Regions from separate parts of the Homo sapiens genome. Here region 2 is linked to region 1. The links are contacts of gene promoters, found by promoter capture Hi-C in human tissues and cell types (Jung and others, 2019). All regions are on one chromosome and are shown on one strand. The core of a region is centred on a gene start or on the middle of the fragment in contact, and the rest is flanking DNA. Distances in the headings are between cores, read along the strand shown. Region 1 holds the start of SP140L (SP140 nuclear body protein like). Region 2 overlaps SP110 (SP110 nuclear body protein).

The links. Contacts are between HindIII fragments. The study calls those that stand out against the background at their distance.
Region 2: a fragment that was not itself captured here is called in contact with the fragment with the promoter of SP140L in region 1 in 1 of the 25 tissues and cell types used here (mesenchymal stem cells).

Annotation. Positions count from the first base shown.
Region 1 is chr2:230,324,243-230,329,454 of GRCh38, reverse strand. It overlaps SP140L (SP140 nuclear body protein like), which reads right to left and starts at 2,262. Exons shown (of 19, transcript NM_138402.6): 1 at 2,154-2,262; 2 at 624-698. The coding sequence starts at 2,185. RefSeq lists an enhancer at 2,119-2,588. The HindIII fragment of the contact is 8,396 bases long and covers 1-4,725 here.
Region 2 is chr2:230,171,279-230,176,490 of GRCh38, reverse strand. SP110 (SP110 nuclear body protein) reads left to right here. Exons shown (of 19, transcript NM_080424.4): 15 at 3,532-3,647; 16 at 4,317-4,425; 17 at 4,724-4,795. Among named protein-coding and RNA genes, the nearest start is that of SP110, 46 kb to the left of the region's middle. The HindIII fragment of the contact is 8,617 bases long and covers 1-5,212 here.

The sequences.
Region 1 (5,212 bases), core at 1,013-3,512:
CACAGAGCCAAACCATATCACTAGATAATTGTCATGGAGGAAAAGTTTGAGACAACTATTGTGAACTCAAAGTAAAAAACTGAAAAGATGAAAGGACCACGGGGAAGATAAAAGCTGTGAAGGCTGAAGTTGCTCCAATGTAAGAATAATTTTGCCTAAAAATTGAAAAAGAAAATGTCAGAGATTTTAGAGAAGGAACTTTTCCTGGAACAAAGGCAGAATCAAATCTGCCACCTTAACAGAAGAACGACTTTAAAAACTGGCCGTGCTCACAGAGTGCCTCAGCAACTCTCTGCATCACTATTTATAATGAGGGTGCATCTGTCTTATAAAATCTATGTCGTAAGATGTTTATACATGAAATTTTAAGCTGTTAATAAGATAAAAGTCACCATATACAAATGTAAGGGACAAGAAAAGTATATTTATACTTTGCAGAATATTTAGTGAACTCTCCCATATCATGAAAAAAAGACAAACACCTCAACTGAATCACATTGGCAAAAAATAAACAAAAAAATTATGGAAGAGGAAATTTCAGTGGCCAAGAAACATGAAAAGCTGTTCAGCTTTCCACATTATCAGGAAAATACAAATTAAAACAAATTGTAATTCTTCATCACCTTTGCAGACTTTGGCTGTGTGCAGGAAGATGGTTCATCTCATTTGCTACTTGTGAAACACCTCCGTTCAGCCCCCTAAAAAGACAATTTGGCAGGATCTATAAACAAGTAAATAACAGCACCCTTTGCTTCAACAATTCCACTTTTTAAGGTTTAGGCACAAGAGAAATACTTGCATATGTGCAAAAAAAAGAGAAATATATAATCATTATTATAGCTTATTGATAAACGTGAACAATTTAAAACAATCTAAATGTCCTTCAATTGGAGAATGGTTAAAAAATTATGCTATGTAAATTCTATGGAATAGTATATGTAAAAAGAGTGAGGTAGATCTATATGCATTAAGGTGAAAAGATCTCTAAGATTTCCACCATTAAAATGAGTAGAAATGCAAAATGCAGAATAGCACGCACAATGTAATTCCATTTATTACAAAACGAGAACACAAATTATATGTTTACAAAAACATACTTCATACACGTAAATGCATCGAAAAATATGAGAAAAGTTATGCCGAAGACTCTTCACAAGACTGTGAAAGGAAGCTACAAGGCGAAGTGAGTGGTGAAGAAGACTTTTTCGTTTATACACTTCTCCACTGTTTGAAATTTTATGAGTAAGAATGTAATGTATTTCTTTTGTATTAAAAAATTTAAAAGATTAAAATCGCTTGAACCCAGGAGACAGAGGTTGCAGTGAGCCGGGATTGTGCCACTGCACTCCAGCCTGGTTGACAGAGTGAGACCCTGTCTCAAAAAAATGAAATAAAATAAAAAGATTACGTAATGTTATTTATAAACTCGTTACTAGAGAAAAGATAGGATTTCCATCTCTTTTCTGGTCAGAGGCATCCCCCATCTTGGGACAGGAAATTGAAGTAAAAATAAAAATATTTAGCTTTCTGCCATCCTGGGCCTTTTTCTTCTTTTTCCTTCTTTGGATCAAGGTCAATTGTATCAGAACTCACACCCTGAGTCAGTCAAGGAAATAGCCCCAAAGCTGACTGAGGCCCCTTGCCAAGACAGGTGAAACCACAGTTTCCAATGTTTAAAAGTAAGCCAGCTGTTTACCCTGGAGTGTCTATTTCCAAACTACCTTCTTTGACATGACATATGTGAAGGTAGAGAGGGCAGAGGGATGTGAAAGGGTTGGGAGATCATGAGGAAATGTTTGTTGAAACACAAACATATAATTTGTGTTCCTCATTCTCATGAGGAAATAATAACTCTCAGTCACAAATGACTGAAACGACTGTTCAGAGTGTCCCCGCCAGCTGAGCAGTAGTTTCAAAACAAGAAAAGTCATCTGTGTTATGGCAAGCTGGACTCACACAAACAGCTGTCCTGCTGCAGTTGTAAAAATCTGATTTCCTTATTACATTCTCTTTTATTCCATTATATTACACTACCTACCTATGTTCTTGCAAAGCAGGACTAAACTGAAGCTTTAGACAGAAACTGAACTACAGGCATGAAAGCTCCAATACTGCCAGAGATAAAGGTGAAAGGAAGAGAGATAAAGACTCACCTGGTGCTCAGGTCGCTGCCCCCACCTGCCATCGTCCCACCCTAGGCCCTGCCTGGGTGTCAGAGCCTGGCCTATGAGCTCCCCAGTCGGCCCAGCCTGCGTGCAGTGTGGCTGCCCTGACCCGGAGCAGGAAGTCGGCCGACAGACTGACTCACCCTCACAGATTTCTGCCCAAATGGGGAAAAGAAAAGTGAAAGTATTTATTTAACTTCCTGCTGGGATACAGACACCGTGTTTCTCCTCCTTTTTCACTCCAAGGGGTTCTCAGCTTTTCTGAAATGTGGCAGACGGTTGGAGGAGAGGCCTGACAAGCAGCAAGACCTGCAGGACCAGGGAAAGGAGGGCCCAGAGGACGAGCAGGGCTGGCTTCCGGGAGTCCACTTGCTTGTGCAATGGACAGCAAAAAAAAAAAAAATGTCCTTGAACCAAAATAGTCCTTAGCTGCTCTGCCCTCTTAAGAGGGGGCATAGTTTACATGGGAGTTGGGGGGAAAACTCCATGTTTGCCCCTTCCCCTTGCTGAAATGGCTGGGGGTGAGAGTTGGAGGGTTGGAGGGAAAGCCAGAAACTTCAAATCTTCTCTCAGGCCCATGGGAGAGCATGGACTGGACTAAGGTAGGTCCTGACATGGGGACCCAGGGCTGGAGAGAACCAAAATGCTCAGCATTATAACCTGGGGAGAGTGTTCTTAGCCTTCCTGGAAATCAGCCAGAAGTAAGAGAGAACTCTCCACACCCCTGGGACCAGAGGCTGGAGCCAGCATGGTAAGAAAGGCAAACATTTTAAGGGGCAAGGGTTTAAGGAATCTTGACTATGGGGCCACCTTGGAACAGCCAGGGATGAAGAGAGCTTCGGAGAAGTCACTGGAATCTTGAGAGAACAAAAGCTTCTCATTGGAGGAGGATGGAGGTTGGAACCCAGATGATCTAGACATGGAAGGGCAGGGTGGCTCCCGCGGGAGGTTCTATCTCTTCCCAGATTTTCCATTTAGATTCTGATTCAACATTCCTCAGAGAACAAGAAGCGACCGAGAAGACTCGCTTTACATCAGTATAAAGTCATAGGTAAAGAAATAGAAGCAAAGGGCGCATGAGAATGGGGCCACAGGACACAACCAGGGACCAGAACTCCAGGCTGGACCATGGGGCAGAGACAGGGAGGCAGCTGGGAGCCTGGGGGCGCTGGAATCCAGGGCCCAAGGTGAGCAGAGGGTGGAAGCTGGTGAGGATTCAGGGGCCAGAGGGGATGGTGCTCCAGAGCCATGTTTTCCAAATTACATTCTGCTGAATCCAACTTTTTCCAGCCCCCACCCCCAGCCATCTCAGCAAGGGGAAGGGGCAAACATGGAGTCCTCCCCCAACTCCCATGTAAACTATGCCCCATCTTAGAGGGCAGAGCAGCTAAGGACAATTTTGGTTCAAGGACTTTTTTTTTTTTTGCTGTTTATTGCACAATAGTTGGAAGCTGTGAATGCTTGTTCAGGTACATTTGAAAATACGAGGGTGGGGGGTTTCTACCCTGATTCTACTGGTGCCCTGCTTTCCCCAAAATGAGTTAATAAGCAGGTGCCAAGACACTGGTGAGGACAGCTTTTCCAGTGGGCGAGGTCACTGTTTCTATCAGGTACTGCACACCTGTAGGTCTCTCTCTCTCTTTCTCTTGCTCGCTCCCCCATGACTCCCCAGTTTTATGGAGGCACAGTGGCTGGTAAGCTGAGCATCTGTTGGGCACAGTTGTCCTCTGATCCCAGTCTCCATGGAGCACAGCAGCACTGACAAGGCCTGGCGCGGACCACACCAGTCGGCTCTGGCGTCTGCACTCACCCCTCTCACTGCTCTTGGGCAGCAAGCAGGCCCAGGCCACTGAGTGGCACTGACATATGTACCAGCTTTTCTCTGGGTGTGCTTAGGGGCTGGAATTCCAGACCAATGAGCTGGCTGGAAATCTGCAAGTGTTGACCTTTACAGGTGGACATGCCCTTGCTAGGGCAGCTCCTGACAGCAGGGAAGGAGATGTTCTTGTCAGACAGGGTTGGAAAAAGCTGAGCACACACCACACTCTGCAAAAGCAATGCCAGTTAATGGAGAATCTCTAGGCTTCTGTGGGAAAAGCAAAGTTTCTTTGATCTGGAATACATCAGACACACCTGGGTTGGGAAAGGGACAGGACCAAATTAAGAAGTAGTATGAAGTTCTAAAAATCCTGCTGGATTGTTTAGAAGGAAATAATGGAACTCCTGGAGCATTTTCTATGGCTGCAAGGAGTACAGGCAACAGGGAATGTTTTTGCTGTCACAGAAGTAGTTCCAGTTACTGGAGCCTGGAAAACTCAGAAGCAGGAGAGGCAGTGATTGAGGAAGAACCACAGGCAGGGCACCCATCCAGGTGATGGGCCTTCGTGAGCTTCACCAAAAGCAGCTTCAGTTCAGACTTCAGTGGCGAGGGGTGGGGAGGGGCTGTGATTCTTGAACCTGGGACCCCCATGTGGGAACCCAGAGGTCTATCCCTGAGATGAGGTCATTGGCGTTATGGACCAGAGAGTTTCAGGGCAGGAGGCAGCTGCAGCAACAGTGCCACTGGGGCATGAGAATAGAGAACCTGGCCAGCCTCCAAGGGACGTAGAAGTGACGAGTGAAGAGTAGGCGCCTGGGATCTTTAGTGGGAGCAGCCAGTCCTGCCAAACTGTCTCCTTCTAGGAGGTGGAACATCAATCAATCAAGGCTTGGTCCCCACCCATCTTCTAGGGGACTCTTCTCTTCTAGGGGACTCTTCTCTAGGAGTGGGAGTGAGCCTGCTCCTTGCTGGGTGTCCCTGGAGTCATCCTGCCTGCAGAGACCAAGACTCTGTTGGCCCCTCCAAGCTCAAGTGCACAAGGACAGGGGCCTGCATGGCATGAGGGAGGGTTCGATGCCATGGGGATAAGCCAGTTCTGGGGTTTAGTGTTAGGGGTCCCTTTACTGCCACATGTCTAAGCCACATTCCTAATCCAGTTCTTATCAGGAATAAAGCTGGTATTTTGATCCCCATCTGTTTCTTCATTTTGCCTATATCTTAAAGATTT
Region 2 (5,212 bases), core at 1-2,500, 150 kb after region 1:
ATTAAATGAAAAAGCTCATCATGTCCATGTGTTTTAGAAAAAGATCTGGATATTTGGATGGCTATAAACCAAAGGTGTCAGAAATAAAATGCTCTAAGCCTAGGCAACATAGCAAGACCCCATCTCTAACAAATTTTTTTTTAATCAACTAGGAATGGTGGTGTGCACCTGTAGTCCCAGCTAAGGCTGAGGTAGGAGGATTGCTTGAGCCCAGGAGTTCAAGACCAGCCTGAGTGATATAGTGAGACTCTGTATTGCTATACAGAGCGATGTAATCCCAGCACTTTGGGAGACCAAGGTGGGTGGATCCCTTGAGCCCAGGAGTTTGAGACCAGCCTGGGCAACAGGACAAAACCCCTTCTTTACAAAACATACAAAAATTAGCCAGGCATGGTGGCATGCACCTGTAGTCCCAGCTACTCAGGAGGCTGAGGTGGGAGGATCACTTGAGCTCTGGAGGCAGAGGTTGCAGTGAGGCGAGATCATGCCACTGCACTCCAGCTGGGGCAACAGAGCAAGACCCTGTCTCAGAAAAAAAAAAAAAAGAATGCTGCAGCATGAAAAGCAAAAGAAAAGGCATTGAAATAGACAGGAACAGTATATGAAAGGACAAGAGGATCATCCATGATTGCATACTGAGTATTGCTGAATCCTCCATGCTTCTTATTGGTAGCACCAGGATGGAATGACGCCTTTGAACTGAGCTTTGTCTCTACAGGGCATCCCTACAGCTGGAAATGGCAGTCATCTATTGGCTGCACTAACTCCCCCTCCTCAACCTCCTCTACTTGCTTAGATGTGTTCTCCAGACACATCAGCTCCACTCATGAGCTTCCCGTTAGTTGTGAACTTCCAGCAGAGACAATGGTGCCTCCCCCATCTTGCCCTGGAGGCTGGCCTGACCAGGCTGGATTCATTCAAAGTTTAAGGCACTGGTCTCCCAATGCCATCTATTATATAAATCATCTTTCCCATGCTGGTCTGAAATACCCTGAGAATCAGGGGTGCTCAGTGTAACATCATAATAGCAAAAAATTAGGGACGAACACAAGTTCTATCAGTATTGCAGAATAAACTGATACAGCTACAGAATGGTTTTTTTTTAAACTTTTCTTATAGAATATTAGACCTTTGATATAGATATTTGTTTAAATACATGGATTCATAAGTATGGAGTTATCCTTCAATCAATGGAAAGCCACCAAATGGTTTTGTGGTCAGGAGAGCTTCAGGACACTTAATGCTAGTTGTGACGTGTGGGGAAGGAACCCATTGTTGCTTATGTGAACGTGTAGGTAGGTCTATGAGTGAAAAAATAGCCAAAAGAATCAACTGCACTTATTTTGAGATGAGATCACAGGGACATATGCCTTCTGTATTATACCTTTATGTACAATTGGAATTACTATAATGACCATTTGTTACTTTTGCAACCAGAAAAAAAAAAATCTTTAAAATCCAGATCATTAATTAATAGCCCCAACATGGTAATACCCTCTAACTCTCCTAATGCCACATGTCAGCTCATAATAGCCAGGGGCATGCTTGACCCAGCCTCTCAGTCCCACCTTCCAGGGCCAGGTTGGGAGAATAAGATGAAGGTTTACCCGACTGAGAATGAGCCAGTGCGGGCCTTGCCCTCAGCCCCATCATCCAGTGTCACTGCTGCTCGGCAGCACGTCCGTCTGTCTCCACTGCAGTCTCACTTATGTATGTGTACAACAAAGAGACCGATGCTGGTACTCCCAAAATGTGTTTTGTGGTTGCCCTGCAGCGTGCTGCCTCCATGACCCACACATGATGGGCAGCTGGTGTAAAGAGCCACAGACTTGGCCTGTGAGAGCCTCCGTCTCCAGAAGGGCTTGGATGCAGCCAGCAGTTGCCACTCTATCAGCATATAGTGTGAGGCTGAGGAGAACAGCTTTTGGGGTTTTGGTTTTTTTTTGTATCAGAAGCCCATGGCCATCATGGGTGGTCCAGAGATGCCAGGAGGCATGAGAGGAGGTTGCCAAAGCTTCCACAGTGAATGAGACTCAGGAGGGCACTAATGTCTGCTGTATTGCAATTTGACAGATTCTAGAACCTTTTGTTAGAAGGGGCCCCATTCAAAGTGGGCTTATTTTGCAAGTAACAGCGTAAATGGGCTTACCTAAAATCTACAAATGAAGGATGTGTTTCCTTGAACTCAAGAGGCCTGAAGGATGCTGGGAGGTTTATTAGAACACTGTGAGTACTCAGAGGGTCAATAATTATTTTTTGACAGTGTCAGGGATGGAGCATCCCTCAACTGACCAGACAATGGCCAGAAATTGGTGTGGATCCCTGTACTATGCCTGGGGCAGTGGCCCATACTTTTTTGTTTTAGTTTAATCCCACCATGTGGAAACACAAACCCCATCCTTTTCTATGAGTTCTTTGTGAGTAATGTCCTGAGTGTGTCAAATGAATTTGCTGAAAGAAGGGTGTCTTCAGGGTGATGTTACACCTGTACTCCTAGAGAATGTCAGATGCAGTTCAAATCCTGCCTGCAAAGATTGTGTATGGTGGCAGAACTGTCGAGGTACCCCGTGGTAGCCAGATAACGGTCTATTGTGTCCCTTCGGGGGTGAAAGCAACCTGCAGCTGAGATCTGTTGAAATAGGCGCTGAACAGAACACATTAGTCAAATCTATGCCTGCAGAGTATTTACCACTTGCTAAGTGGATGGAGTCAGTAATTTCAATAACATTGGGCCATCACAGGTGGGGTCACAGGATTCAGGTTGTAGTAATTCACCGAGAGGCACCATTCATTCTTTCCAAGCCTAAGAACAGACCAAATTGGGCTGTTAAATGGAGAAACAGTGGGGATAATCACCCTTTCTCTAAATAGATCTTCCATAATGAGTTTCAATCCTTGAAAGCCGTGTTTTAATTCATATTGATCAGTATTAAATATTTTAACAGAGAAGGTCCATAGAGTTCCATTTTGTAAAGCCAATTGTAAGTGCCAAAGGTAACTTAATTTTAATTATTTTAATGTGTTATTTACTGGGTCATAGCATCCATGCCCACTGTGGAACATTTTAGGGCCATGTTATGTTACGACCATGGGGCAGTTAGGCAAGGCACCAGGAACAACAGTTCCCATACTCCTGCACCCAAATGCCAGTTATCATCATTTCTTACTTTGGTCAGTCAGATCTATTAATAGAGGCCTGGTGGGCTCAGCAAATGCGCCCAGAGTGGCCCAGCTCAAAGCACAAGCTTGCCAGCAGGCAGCAGCACAGCTCAAAACGCAGCAGAACCTGTTGGCAAGCCACAGCCAGAGAAGAAAAGTCCTGGTGGCGGCGGTCACCACCCAGACTCTCTGCTTGTTGTGCCATTTGTCTTGCAATTTCCCCCAGGGAGGTGGCATCAGCTCCCCCCATCAAAAATTGGGTTTGGATATCCACTCTGGCACACACAAAAATGATGTGTTCTAGAACCCCACAGGGTCAGCATTCGTGGGTCTCCATGGTCCTAGCGGTGCCCACGTTATCTGCCCTTGCAGCGGAAAAACTCGGATGAATGCGAGGTGTGCTGTCAAGGGGGACAACTTCTCTGCTGCGGTACTTGTCCACGAGTCTTCCATGAGGACTGTCACATCCCCCCTGTGGAAGCCAAGAGGTGAGTGGGATGCAGCCCCGCCTCGGGCACACAGCACTCACCTCCAGATGGAAAGGGCAGGACCTGTGAGCGTCGGGGACGAGGGTGTGACGCAGAGCAGTCTGGTGCCAGAGACTCTGGGCCTCTCTGGGTCTCTGAGACTGCCAGTGAGCCTCTTGGCCCCACACTGCTTCTGCCCCTGGAAGTGCCCTTTCCTAGTATGCTATTCCCTGGACAGCAGGGACTCCTGTCCAAAAGGAGGAGGGGACGGGAAAAGCCAGCTTATGTTCTGTGCCTGTTGAGGAAAGACAGGAAGCACGGCTTGTCACACATTTCACCATAGTCTCACCTGGCTGATGGAGGCCTGAGGTCCCTGCAGGTGAAAGCCCAGATTCTGACACTCAAGCCTGGCAGGCAGGGTTCCTTTGTGCTCCCAGCAGCTCAGACAGGGAAAAGAGAGCCCACACTTAACAGTGACACCACCTTCCTCAGGCTGCCCGCCTGCCGCTACCACTGATGCGAGGGAAGGGCCAATGCTGGAGACCCCATGTGGGGATCTTGGACACTCTGGGAGGTGTCCCACCCTCATGGCTGAGCCCATCCTTCCTGAGGGAAGACAGTGGCAGCCACAGGAATGGTGGCCATTTCCAGGGGCTTTGCCCTCTGCTCACCTTGTGTCCAACCTCTCAGGATGCTGTGGAGTTGCACCTTCTGCAGGATGAAGAGGTCTTCAGGAAGCCAACAGTGCCATCATGTATCTAAGACCCTGGAGAGGCAGATGCAGCCTCAGGACCAGCTGGTGAGTTGGATGCAAACCCCAAACCTATACTTTTCCCTTCTCACACGAGAAGCACAAACAGGCACAGGGTCAGGGCAATGTACCAAAGGGAGCCTTCAATGTCTCCCTTTAAAGGATGACGATTTAATGCCCAAACTCAGAGTCTAAACAAAATCCCACACACCCTGTGCGCCTTGGGAAGCATGGCTGGAATGCTGACTGGGCTTGGCTGCCCCATCCGTGTGCATGTCTAGACACTCGCCTGGCTTCACTGTTTCTAAGCTGCATTTCACTTTCAAGCCCTCTTCACATTTTACAGAAATGTGAGTTCCTCCTCTTGAAGGCCTACTGTCATCCACAAAGCTCCTTTTTTACGGGCATCCCATTTAATGTAAGTCACATTTTACGGTTCTCTTGCATAAAATGCATTTGGAGAAATTTGGGGGCTGATCTGGCAGGTGCTGCAGTTTGCTCAGGAAGCTGGAGAACAGAAGAGAAGGGCAGCGTGGCAGCAGTGGAGCGGGGCAGCAGGGATTTTGCTGCACACTCTGGAGAGGGACTACCTGGTTCAAACTCCACCCCACTGCTCACGGGCTCTGGGATACCGGGCAAGTTGCTTCTCCTCCTGTGTATCTGTTTCATCTTCTCTTTAGGAAGAATGTCTTTCCTACTAGAGATTAAGAGTCACAGATGCCAGCTGGGCTCAGCGGCTCACGCCTGTAATCCCAGCACTTTGGGAGGCCAAGGCGGGCAGATCACTTGAAGTCAGGAGTTTGAGACCAGCTTGGCCAACATGGCAAAACCCCAT